Linked DNA regions of Homo sapiens: region 2 is linked to region 1. Evidence: promoter capture Hi-C in 16 types of primary human blood cells and fetal thymus (Javierre and others, 2016). All regions are on one chromosome and are shown on one strand. The core of a region is centred on a gene start or on the middle of the fragment in contact, and the rest is flanking DNA. Distances in the headings are between cores, read along the strand shown.

Region 1 (6,555 bases), core at 157-2,656:
CACTGCACTCCAGCCTGGGTGACAGAGCTAGACCTTGTCTCTAAACTAAACAAAACAAAACCCAGTACCAAGAGACCCAGTGACACCAAACACGTTTTGCAAGTAGGTAGTTTAATAGTTACAGTTACCTGGTTCTAAAAAGTGTCTTGCTAGAGAACATTTGTTCAAAGGGGCCACTTTAAAGCCTGCTATTCTAGTGTATACTGGCCGTAGTTTCTGAAATTGTAGCGAAGATGGAGAAATAATAACAGCATTCATAAGCACAACTGCAGATATTATACTTCTTAGTTTAAAAAAAACCTTTTTTTTTGGAACTATAAAATAAAAACACAGGCTACATACATACTCATTTTCTCAAATTGGCTTTTGTGCAAAAAAAGGTTGTTACCTATTGGGTTGCTTTGTTATTTCCTTAGAAAGATGTATTCCAAATTCCCAATGGCCAACCTGCACATGTGCACTCTGGGAACACAGTCAGTTTATTGGTTGGGGGTTGCTTGCCCGAAATCTGGGGTCATAGAGCCACTTCTCTCATTTTATTGTCTTGATCCTATCCATAGACCCGTTCTCACCAATCCCTCAAATTCTATTTATCCCTTTCCTGGAATACTAGATGTCTGCCCACGTTAATTCATGCCCCACCTAGGGTGCCGCATTTCCCAGCATTGGCTCCACTTGCTGTGAGCCTTGAAGAAGGCCAAAGCTTTGGCCCCGTCATCCTCCTTGCACCCCCAAACCCGTCACCAGCCTTGCTCCCCCAGATGCTTGTCCATCGTCCCCACCTACACACCCTTGCCCACCTCACCAGAGTTACAGTGCCGACAGCTCTCACAGTGGGGCCGGGTGTGGTGGTCAGGAGAGAAGGAGACCCCCGGTATGCAAGGATCACACTGAGCAGCCTTTCTATGCTGGTCACAGTCCTTCACGAGGAATGTTCCTGGGAGGAGAGGGTAAGGGATCAAGGCCTGAGAAGGGCTGGTTCTCTGCCCTCTTCAAGGTGGTGCCTCCCCACAGCTGCAGGATTTCCCTCCTTGCTTGAGCTCAGTCTCACCCTGCGCCTATTTACTGTATTAACCCCAGTCCTCTCTCTTTCGCCACTCACCTGGCCCTTACCAAGGCCCCCTCTTACCTGGCTCACACATCTGGCAGCACAGCTTTCCCTGAGCCCAGTAGTGCCTCTCTGGGCAGCTCTTGGGGGCTGGAGTAGCTGAGAGCCCCACCAGGGTCCCCAGAACGCACAGCCACCAGGGATGTGGCCGTGCCATGGTCCCTGCCCAGGCGGCTCCTTTCTGTGCCCAGTTGCTGATGCTGGCCTCTGGAGTTAGCACCTCCAAGCTGGGCGCTGCTGTCTCTTCTTTGCACCCCCTGGGCAGTGGCTGCTTCAGGTGGCAAGCCAACCTTTGAAGGCAGAATCTCTATTGTGGCTGTTTTTTTTTTCTCTCTCATAGCAGCAACCTCCACCCCCTTCCCCTTCCGTGTGCTGGGGAGAGTATTAAAGAGCAAACTCTGTGAGACCTGCTGCTCTTCAAACATGCTTCCTCCAACACATGAGCCTTCCTTAGTTTCCGCCTCTCCTGCTCATGAAGCACGTAGCCCACTGACTCCTGCTTCTTTGACAAAAAGGTGATGGACACACAGTTGCTCACCCCTCCTATTCATGCACTTGTGCACAAAGGTGCCCACGTTACCCCCCCCCACCCACCCCCCCGTCCACAGTTTACAGACGAATTCGCAGGACTCCTGTCTCCCATACCTGCATCCCTCCTTTCACAGACAACAGTTGAAAGAAGGAAGGAGAACCAGAATTGAGCACAGGTCCACAAGCTCTTATCTGAAACTTTGGGGGTCAGATAAGTTTTGGAATTCAGAATTTTTCAGGTTTATACAGAAACCAGCACCACAAAACACCCTTGGGGAGTTGGGGTAGTCTCATAATCAAACGCAACATTTCTGCAGCAAAACTATTGAATATTTACACCAACTGGGAGGAAGCTTAAATAGCCTTGTCTCAATTGAGGTCTGGTTTGATGGCCAAACGAGTTTGCTACAGAATGCTCAGAATTGCAAGCAAGGGGTGTAGAGCTGCCTCTCTTCTGTCACACTCTGACCGATCACCTATGCTCTCCTTTAATCCTCATGTCAGTCTCTGATGTGGGTGCCACCTACTGCCCACATGGCCTTCCCTCTCAGACCCTTGCTCACTCCTCACTTTTGTGCCATCTTTATCCTCCCCTTTCCCACCTCTGGCTGTGTCAGTCACTGGTGTCCTGGATCGCCTGGAGCATCTTCTCTCCTAGCCTTGGGCACTTGGGATTAAAGGTAGCTTCCTACGGGGGTCATCTCTTTTTTATTTTCCCAGTTCTCCCAGCAAGACTGATTTCGGGATATTGGAAACAGCTAGACTTTTCCCTCTTTGAGTCATGGGGACACACACGGGTCAACAGCCTCCTCCACTCTTTCCTCAGCAACCGATATGTGGAGTGGCTTATTTCCCCAGGAAGTTTTTAATTTAGGGGCTTTGCCGTTGTTTCCACACTGTTCATAAATGTCACACTGCTGTGGTCACACCTGTCAGATCTGTTCTCTATCTCACTCTGTAGTTTCCTTTCTCCTCATTTTCTCCATTCTCTTGTCTTTTCCCAGCCCCCTCTGCAGCTCTTCATGGGGGTCCACTCAAGTCAGAAGCCACATTTGGGTGTGATTCAGAGAGCTGTTTATGCAAAACCAGCTTTGTCACCATCAGGCAAGGCACCTGAATTCCCACCGCAGAGAGTGTTGTGGCCGTGAGGACTTTTCTGTCACCAGCCATTTCCAGGTTGTGGTAAATGTGTTCACTGCAGGCATGGGGCAGTGGGGTGGCTAGCTGACTGCAGGCCCTGGGAGGGTGGATGAGACCCTCAGAAGAATCATGAGGAACTGGGGACCTTTAGGAAGAAACTTGTCGAACAGGGACTTGCAGTTCGCTGAGCCTAGCAACCTTGAACCGACTGGGAACTGCTCACTAGCCTAACGCTGCTGTCCTCTGGGCCAAAGCCCATCTCCTCTTTTCTACATATCACTTCTCCAGGGGGTCAGAGCAGGAGCAGGGTCTGCCTGGCTTTCCTGGAGGGCCTCGGCCAAGAGGAGGAAGGCCAGGTTTCTGGACGTTTTTCTTTCCTAGGCAAATAGAATGAGCTCATCTCCAGCACTCTTTGCATCCACTTCTGGTGAGCCTTCCCCATCCTAGGCTGGCTCCCTGGACGGGACCTTCCTTTTTTTTTTTTTTCCTCCCTCCATTTCACTCTGTCACCCAGGCTAGAGTGCAATGATGCAATCTCAGCTCACTGCAACCTCTGTCTCCCAGGCTCAAGCCATTCTCACGCCTCAGCCTCCTGAGTAACTGGGATGACAGGTGCGTGCCACCACGCTCAGCTAATTTTTGTATTTTTAGTAGAGATGGAGTTTTGCCACGTTGGTCAGGCTGGCCTCAAGTTGATCCGCCCACCTTGGCTGGGATTACAGGGGAGAGCCACCGCGCCCAGCTTATTTTTTGTATTTTTAGTAGAGATGGGGTTTTGTCATGTTGGCCAGGCTGGACCAGAACACCTAGCCTCAGGTGATCTGCCTGCCTCGGCCTCCCAAAGTGCTGGGATTACAGGCACGAGCCACCATGCCTGGCTGGGCCCTTCCTTTTGTCTAGAGGCCCTGGGATGCAGCCCGCTGACATCTTCCTTGAAATCTCACACAACCACTTTCTCTTTTGGGGTCAGCCTCTCCCCCATGCCTGGCTGGGGCATAAAAACATATGGTATTTTCTCAACAGCTCCCTGCTTTTCTTTCCTTTCCAGAAACAGGCCCACAGCAGCCCTTCTTGAGAACTCTGAGGACTCTCATGACTTTTTTTGGTTCTTTTTTTTTTTTTTTTTTTTGAGAAAGGGTCTCTCACTGTTGCCCAGGCTGGAGTGCAGTGGCATGATCTCAGCTCACTGCAACCTTTGCCTCCCAGGTTCAAGCGATTCTTATACATCAGCCTCCCAAGTAGCTGGGATTATAGGCACCGGCCACCATACCCGGCTAATTTTTTGTATTTTTAGTAGAGACGGGGTTTCACTATGTTGGCCAGGCTGGTCTCAAACTCCTGGCCTCAAGTGATCTGCCCTCCTCGGCCTCCCAAAGTGTTGGGATTACAAGCGTGAGCCACTGTGCCTGGCCTCTCATGACTTTTGAGAGGGCCTGACCAACCCTCCACCTGGCCCAGTGACTGTAGCCTAGATGTCAGCCAGGGGCACCCTGCTCCTTAAAATCTAGATAAGATGCTCTTTGCTTCCCACTCAGGGCAAGTCCTGGGCAGGCTGTCCACCTGCATGAGTTCCAGTAGGTTGGGTGTTCTTGTGGCTGCCTCTGGCTCTGATTTCTCTTTCAGCTAAAGTCTTGTTCTTGCCTCCGTGTCTCCTGTCTGTTCCCTTACCTGTACCCTGCCTCAGGCCCAAATTGTTGGACACAAGACTTGCTTAAAGTTTCCTCTAAACCAGCTCTAAACAGAAGGCTGTTAGGTGTGGCAGACTTTGTCTTTTTTCTCCAATTTTTATGAATCAATAACCTGTTAAAGCGCTCAGCAGGACCAGTCTCTGCAAGACCTTTCCTTAGGAGGAAGTTCTGTTATGGGACAAAGATGTCCGCAATCACTGTTCCTGACTTAGGCTTCCTGAGTCTCATCACCTGAAGCTCTGAGTTTGTCTGGCCCTCTTTGTCCCCTGCTCCCCATTGCTTCCTCCCCGACTCCCACTTTCTTCGATGACCACCACCAGCACTGCTGCCCCCACCACCTTAAAGCCTCCTTCCCAGCAAGGCTTTGAGAGGCCACCTGGTCAGGACAGTGAGTTAAGCTCATTAATGAGGTTCTGGGTCCTCGCAGCTCTGTAATTTTCATTTCTGCACCTCCCCAGTCTGGGTGACACAGGAGACTGACCAACTATGGGTATTTCCAGCCTCTGCCCACTCCTCAGAAGCCCAGCACAGCTCCCAGTGTCTCCTAGCACGTAAGGCACTGGCTAAACATTGGATGGTCCAGCTCAGCTTTGTGCTGTAGCGGCTCTGTCCACAATTATAAAATGGAAACGTCAGAGGGCTCAAGGCCCCTTAGACCTCCTCATTCATTTGACAAGCGTTTTTTGCACATTCATTTTGTGTTAGGAACCAGCCAAGTAATGGGGCACAAAGATGAAAAACAAACAGACAAATATGTGGTTTCTGCCCTGACGGAGTTGACACACCAGTGTGAGAGTCAGACATCGATCATATAATCTCAAAGACAAATGTAAAATTGGCCAGGTGAGGCGGCTCACACCTGGAATCCCAGTCACGTTGGGAGGCCGAGGCGGAAGGATTGCTTGAGCCTAGGAGTTTAAGACCAGCCTGGGCAACAGAGTGACACCCCGTCTCTACACATAATAAAAATAAATTAACTGGGTGTGGTGGCACGTGCCTGTGGTCCCAGCCACTCGGAAGGCTGAGGTGGGAGGATCACTTGAGCCCAGGGGGTCGAGGTTGCAGTGAGCCATGATCATGCCAGTGCACTCAAGCCTGGGAGATAGAGCAAGACCTCATCTCACAAAACCCAAAAAACAAAACAAAATTAAAATTAGTTAGTAATGGTCATTATTGCTATGAAGGAGAGAGTTGGGGTGCAATATAGGTGTCTATACCCCTAATAGGGGGATTTAAGGGGTAGGGAGTGCCTCATCCAGGAAGCAAAGTTTAACAGAGATATGTGGGATCTGGCAGCTCTCCACCTACATGAGAATTATTACTTCCCTTGGTTTCTGTGACACGATTCTATTTTCCTTGCTTTGACCACTTGTTTTTTAAGTGCTATTTTTTATTTTTTTATATACAGATTATATACAATAGGGATAATCTGTTCCTTGAAAGCCTGGTAGAACTTGATTTGCTTGTGTGTAGCTGTTTCACTGTTATTATTATTATTTTTTTTAGGCTGTCTTGCTCTGTTGCCCAGGCTGGAGTGCAGTGGCATGATCTTGGCTCACTGCAACCTCCTCCTCCTGAGGTCAAGTGATTCTCCTGCCTCAGCCTCCTTAGTAGCTGGGATTACAGGTGTGCGCCACCACACCTGGCTAATTTTTGTATTGTTAGTAGAGACGTGGTTTCACCATGTTGGTCAGGCTTGTCTCGAACTCTTGAGCTCAAGTGATCCACCTACCTTGGCCTCTCAAAGTGCTGGGATTACAGATGTGAGCCACTGCACCCGGCATACTTTGCCATTCTTTTTCTAATGTATTGGATGCTTAATTAATTTAGAAATTTCTTATTTTCTAATATATGCATTTAAGGCTATAAACTTCCCTTGAAGATCTACTTTAGCTACATCTCATCAGCTTTGCTATATTGTTTTTTTCATTATTGTTGATTTGCTTTTCCCGTTATTATTTATTTTTACCTATATTTCATTTATAAATGCATTACAAATTTTCCAGATCTGTGGGGCTTAACTTTTTGTTGTTTATTATTTTAATTTTAAATTTATTGTGGCCCGAGCACTCTGTCTGTGTAGCATGG
Region 2 (6,343 bases), core at 393-2,892, 500 kb before region 1:
GCTGTTTGCCAAACAGGACGCATGCAGGCCTCTGTCCCGTGTGGTTTGGATGATGACATTTGGTCTACACTGGGCACAACTAGATGGGATGCAGTGAATGAAAATGTCCCAAGGCAGTGTGCTTCTTGCTCTCAGGTGAACCATTTTAGCAGTTTAGTCACTGGAACCCCAAGAATGAACACGAGACCCCAGGTCTGTAGCTGGAACTCAGGAAGGCTATGAGGCAGCAGAGCTGAATCAGTCAACACCTTTGGGGAACACCAGGATCTCACCAAAAATTTAACCACCAACCCCCCCCAAACAAAAATTAGCTGAAACACCCTGGAGAGACTGCAGCCACTGCTGTCATGCAGACATGTCACTAAAAGGTGGCACAACAGCATTTAAGTCCAGCTCTGCTACTCGAGAGTCTGCACCATTAGAGTTTGCTTCCTCATCACAAAATGGAATAATAATGTGATTAACAGTACAGGTTGACCATCCTTAATTAGAAAATCCAAAATCTGAAATTATGAGTGCCAGTGTGAGGCCGAAAATGGAAAATTCCACACCTGACTTCATAGTGGGGGGTGGGGGAGACTGTAGTCAAAACGCAGTCAAAACTTTGTCTCATGCACAAAATTATTCAGACTATTATATAAAATTACCCTCAGGCTATGTGCATAAGGTGCGTGTATATGAAACAAAACAATTTCGTGTTCAGATTTAGGTCCCATCCCCCAAGATATCCATGTATATGTAAATATTCCGAAATCTGAAAAAACCCGAAACACTTCCGGTCCCAACCATTTCGGGTAAGGGATACAGAACCTCTACTGTACAAAACGCAACTCGGACGCACAAGCTCAGGGTAGACCCTGGGCTCTGAGTGCCAAGAATGTTAGTCAGATTGTGGCTGCCGCCGTGTGGCGAGAAAGGGGACAACCGCTCATGGGCCCACAGATCCGGCGCCCTCTCCCGACCCAACTCCCGCCTTCCCGCGTCTGACCCGCCTTCCCGCGTCTGACCCACCTTCCCCGTCGCAGCTGAAGCCATAGGCTTTGATAACCTCCTGCTGGATCTGCGTGGCCACGGGCAGCACGAATTGCAGCATCTTACCCATGTCGTTGCAGGCGTTATCCCGAGCCTCGTCCATGCGCACTGCATTCTCCGGGGCGGAGAACGCCTGGATCACCTCCGCGAGGACCACTGCGCGCCAGAAGCATCCCAGGGAGGCGTCCCGGGTAGGCGTCGGAGAACAGACAGCGGGCCCAGCGGAGAGCGCAAGGAATTAGTGGATTGAGGCTGTAGGTAACCCAATAAGATCCCAAGTCTTGGGGGCAAGCGCCCCACTTAGAAGGACGGTACCCGGCGTCCCCTACCCCATTTTCCCGGCGGACGTAGCCAGGTTTGTCGCCCCACATCCTCCGCCCGCATCCTCCCCAGACCAGCAGCCCATGCCTTGACTACCCCAGGCCAGCAGCCTATGCCTTGACTAGGACGATTCTCACCCTTTGCTTGCTCAGCGCTCAAGGCCGCCGGTTGGGTCGAGGCGGACGCCATAGGGCGTCTGAAGCTCTAGGTTCAGCGGAGGTAAATGGAAAACTCACGAATAAAGAGCCACGTCCTACAACCGTTCCCAACGCCCCTGGGAGCGGAAAGGAAACAGCATCCGGCGCAGCCGGAAGCGCCCAGGCGTGGCCCAAACCTTCATACCCCAAGCTTACAACTGCATCAAGACCACCAAAACTACCCATAATTTTTGCACAGTGAAAACAATCTATCATTGGCAACAAACATCATAAGAGGGGCTTTCCGGTAAAAAGCCAGAAAGCCTACTAGACAAATTCTAAAAGAGCTGTAACACTGCTGCGTATGTGTTTGGAGAGAAGATGGGATATAAAGGAACTCCACAATTGATGAGGGTGAGCTTAGGTGACTTTTTTCTTGTTCCTATTACTGTATAAACAACGACGCATGTGGTAACTTTCAGTAGGAAAAATAATATTCTAAGGAACTTACTTAAGTCATTCATTTCTAGAGTTCGCGAACATTTGTTCTCAGCCCATGCAAATGAGTTCGGTGCTGATTGGTTGAGAAAGCAGCCAGTCACAGCCCCTTCGTTGTTGTTAAGCCCGGAGACCTGGATTCGGCAGTAAAGGCCCAGAGCAAAAGCCGTTGTCGCAGTTTCCTAAAGGCCTTGTCTATTGATGAGCGATGGAGCCTAATGCCCGGCCCGATTTCCCTTCCCTTCCAGGCTTTTATCACCCACTCCCTTCTCAAACTGTAGGTGGTTAAGGATGCCAGGTACTAATCGCCTGGACCTATTAAAACTAGCCCACCCCACCCCCGCTTCATAACCGGCTTTGTTTTTTGTTTTTGAGACGGAGTCTTGCTCTGTCGCCAAGCTGGAGTGCAGCTGGGGGGGATCTTGGCTCACCATAACCTCCACCTCCCGGGTTCAAGCGATTCTCCTGCCTCAACCTCCCAAGTCGCTGGGACGACAGGCGCGCGCCACCATGCCCAGCTAATGTTTTGTTTTTAGTAGAGACAGGGTTTTGCCATGTTGGCCAAGCTGGTCTGGAACTCCTGACCTCGTGATCCGCCCGCCTCGGCCTCCCAAAGTCCTGGGATTACCAGCGTGAGCCGTCGCGCCTGGCCTCATAACCGTTTCTTAAAGTATTCCACGGAAAGGTTTCAGGACTCTGAAGCCCTTGTTCCGGAGGACTCTGGTGGCTCCTAGCAGTGAGACCCGTCTGAATAGATTCCTAGAACTGACCACGTCAGAGGTGGGCCTGTCCCAGGCCTCTAGTGTTTGGTTGGTTGGGGTGTCTTTTGTTTGTTTGTTTTGAGATAGGGCCTTGCTCTGTCACCCAGGCTAGAGTGCAGTGGTGCGATCATGACTCACTGTAGCCTCGACCCCCAAGTGATCCTCCCACCTCAGCCTCCTGAGTAGCTGGGACCACAAGTGCACCACAACCCCCAGCTGATTTTGTCTTAAGATGGGGTTTCTCTATGTTGCCCAAGCTGGTTTCCAACTCCTGGGCTCAAGCAATCCACCCGCGTCTCACAGGCATAAGCCACAGAGCCCAGACCGAGGCCTCCACTGGCGCGCAGCGGTCCTGCCCAGCCTTGGGGCAGGAGGGGGCACCAGCACCCATGGTACCGCCTCCAGCTGAGTCAAGGCTCTGGGCTCTTCAGGGATCCCCTCTCCAATTCTTCCCAGCCCCCACACCCCGTTCCTTAAGAAGGTCTGGTCTCTTCCCGCTTCCCTGCCAGGCCCTGGCTGCAGTTCTCTCTAAGCACCGCTGCACTGAGACCCAGCCTCACCCCCATATCCCGCAAAGAATAGTCACAGCCATGTTCCTGGGGAGTTGTGAGGATGTTTTTGTTTGGTTGGTTTTGGTTGGGATGTTTTTTTAAGAGCGTCATATAGATATTTATATATATAAATTATTAGTGTGGGGAAGGGGCAAGGGGCATACATTGCAGAGGGGGCGCGCACACAGGGATCGGGGAGGGGCAGGGGTGGCACACGATGCTACGCAAAACAGCCACATCTAACAGATGAAATAATCACACCAACGGGGCAGGGGAGGGGCGGCGGCCACAGGGGTTGGGCATGGGGGAGGAGAAAAGCAGGGGGGACAAGGAAGAGAGACCTGGTCCAAGATTCTGTGCGCTTTCTGTCCCCATCCTCGCCACCTCCCCACCTCTGCACACCACATCGGGCCTTGGCCTTCTGTCTGTCCCTCCCTCCCCCACTCTCTGTCCAGCTGCGGAGGCCCTGCAACTGAGCAGCACCCTCTTGGCTCTGGGTGGCAGGCCAAGGGCACGGTGGGGGGAGGGTGGGGGTGCTCCAAGGTCCAATGTAGGAGCCATGGTGCTCTCTTGATCGCAGGTTCTACAGTGGCTTGTCGCTTTCCTTCTTCAGGTGACTAGGGAAGGGGCAGTGCATAGCAGAGAGGTAAGAGACTTGAGACCAACTCTGACCTTGCCCCCTCTTACCGAAGGGGTTGGGAGAGGAGGGGTTCCCTCCCCCAGGAGCACGGTGCCCAGCCGTACCATGCCCACAGCTCCTCCCAGGCTCGCTGAGCCCATGTCCCCTGGGCTGGGGCACCCTAGGGTACCTGTAGTAGTCCTCCTGGGCAGGCAGCGGCACACTGTGCAGCGGGTGATGGGCATGCAGCCACTGCTGCTGTTCCAGCGCCAAGCGCTGCAGCTCAGCTGACTGTGCGTGCATGGCCTGCAGCTGATGAGCTGCTGACATCGGGGCAGAAAGGGAGGCCGGCAGGTCCCGGTAAGGGGCAGCTGTGAGCAGGAAGGGCAAGGGGCATATGACCAACGGATAACAAGTACCTGCTCTGGACCAGGGGATAGCCAGCTCCTTTACATACAAAGGTAATGAACTAAAAAGTGAGGTAACACACCCAGTTCTGTAAGTTGCCAGTGGTAGGGTGGAATTGGGATTCGAACCTCTTAGGCTGACACTAAAACTCGTGCTTCTCTTGGGCAGAGCTCCAGCTCTCCTATTCCCATGCCCAGCTCCTCTAGGCACCTCCTCATCCCTCCCCAAGCCCAACTAGGCCCATCCCCCCACCCAAATACCTCCTTTCTGCCCTTTTCTCATTGGAGCTGCCTACCCCAACTTCCATCCTTACCAAAGAGCTGGTGACGAAGAACTTCGTTCTCGTGCAGAGGGTGAGGAAGCAGGGGGTTAGGGAGAGTTCCAGCTGGGTAGGGGATCCGGGTAAGGTGAGACCCTGAGGCCAGGGGGTCAATGAGAGGGTGCACCGAGGCAGAGGCTGGAGGGCAGAGAAGAGGAAGGTGTCACCAGAAGGCAGGTTTGGGGCAAACCATGCATTTGGGTGAAGGGATCCAAGCCTGGGAACTGAGTCAGACAAACACAAGGAGGTCCAAAGTGGAACAAAGGCAGAGTGGAAGAACTAGAGGCCTGGCAGGGGTGGACAGGCTGAGCCCTACTGGAGGAGGGACATATGGATGACACAGGACAGGAGATTACAGTCATCAGAAGGGTCTGAGGGGAAGGACAGAGAGAGGTAGACTGCGTGAAGAAGGTGGAAGATGATAGAAGTTTAGAAAATAAGACAAGAAGAGGCCGGGCACAGTGGCTCAAGCCTATAATCTCAGCACTTTGGGAGGCTGAGGCAGGCAGCTCACCTGAGGTGAGGAGTTCAAGACCAGCCTGGCCAAGATGGTGAAACCCTGTTTCTACAAAAAATACAAAAAAATTAGCCAGGCAGGGTGGCACACGCCTATAGTCCCAGCTCCTCGGGAGGCTGAGGCAGGAGAATCGCTTGAACCTGGGAGGTGGAAGCTGCAGTGAGCCGAGATCGCGCCACTGCACTCCAGTCTGGGCAAAAGAAAAAAAGGAAGCCGGGTGCGGTGGCTCACGCTTGTAATTCCAGCACTTTGGGAGGCCAAGGCGGGTGGATCACAAGGTCAAGAGATCAAGACTATCCTGGCCAACATGGTGAAACCCCGTGTCTACTAAAAATACAAAAATTAGCTGTACTTGGTGGCACACGCCTGCAGTCCCAGCTACTCGGGCAGGCAGTGCCTGCTGAGGCAGAAGAATCACTTGAACCCCAGAGGCGGAGGTTGCAGTAAGCCGAGATCGCGCCACTGCACTCCAGCTTGGTGACAGGGCGAGACTCCGTCTCAAAAACCAAAAAATGGTGAAAGGATAGTAAGTAAAGCTCATTATCGCCTATGACACCCAAACCCAAAGCTACAGGGCCCTTTCTAGAAAGTTACAGATCTAGAGATGGGGAAAAACATGAAAGACCTCGCAGAGGGAGAAGAGGAGAAAATGGCAAAAAATGAGTTGAATCCAGAGAAATCAGAAGATAGGTTTGTGGGTTGGGCACGGTGGCTCACGCCTGTAATCTCAGGACTTTGGGAGGCCGAGGTGGGTGGATCGCTTTGAGCTCAGGAATTTGAGACCAGCCATGGCCAACATGGCGAAACCCCGTCTCTACCAAAAATACAAAAAGTAGCCAGGTATGGTGACACACGCCTGTAATCCCAGCTACTCCAGAGGCTGAGGTAGGAGGATCACTTGAGACCGGGAAGTCGAGGCTGCAGTGAGCTGTGATTGCGCCACTACACTCCAGCCTGGGTGGCAGAGCCAGACCATGTCTCAAAAAAATAAATAAGAAGACAGGTTTGTGAAGGGCTTGGGAGAATGGGGCTGTGAGAATAGAAAAGTGTCCTTCAAAAGCTCCCGTGTGGGCCTCTGTCATGGGAAGGATACTAGACTATGGAGAGAACTGGGCTGTGGGGCATACAGGCTTTGTGGCCAGGGAAGGCCATGAGAAGACAAGGCTGAGAGAACGTCAGG

The links. The method cuts DNA at HindIII sites, captures the fragments that hold promoters and counts their contacts. A CHiCAGO score of 5 or more calls a contact.
Region 2: the fragment with the promoter of C12orf57 here is called in contact with the fragment with the promoter of CD27 in region 1 in 1 of 17 cell types (non-activated CD4 T cells); the score reaches 6.9 in non-activated CD4 T cells.

The regions. Positions count from the first base shown.
Region 1 is chr12:6,439,806-6,446,360 of GRCh38, reverse strand. CD27 (CD27 molecule) reads right to left here and starts at 1,406. Exons shown (of 6, transcript NM_001242.5): 1 at 1,130-1,406; 2 at 806-937. The coding sequence starts at 1,265. CD27-AS1 (CD27 antisense RNA 1) reads left to right here. Exons shown (of 6, transcript NR_015382.2): 5 at 2,644-2,815. RefSeq lists enhancers at 126-245, 955-1,134, 1,165-1,224, 769-1,270, 2,175-2,224 and 1 more and silencers at 3,305-3,384, 3,485-3,624. The HindIII fragment of the contact is 1,289 bases long and covers 706-1,994 here.
Region 2 is chr12:6,939,321-6,945,663 of GRCh38, reverse strand. It overlaps C12orf57 (chromosome 12 open reading frame 57), which reads right to left and starts at 1,642. Exons shown (of 3, transcript NM_138425.4): 1 at 1,491-1,642; 2 at 1,012-1,188. The coding sequence starts at 1,542. RNU7-1 (RNA, U7 small nuclear 1) reads right to left here and starts at 1,848; the gene lies at 1,786-1,848. ATN1 (atrophin 1) reads right to left here. Exons shown (of 10, transcript NM_001940.4): 8 at 4,641-4,784; 9 at 4,110-4,290; 10 at 3,343-3,917. The coding sequence ends at 3,884. RefSeq lists enhancers at 1-425, 986-1,135, 675-1,254, 1,146-1,265, 1,566-1,755 and 1 more and a silencer at 1,093-1,352. The HindIII fragment of the contact is 10,579 bases long and covers 1-1,703 here.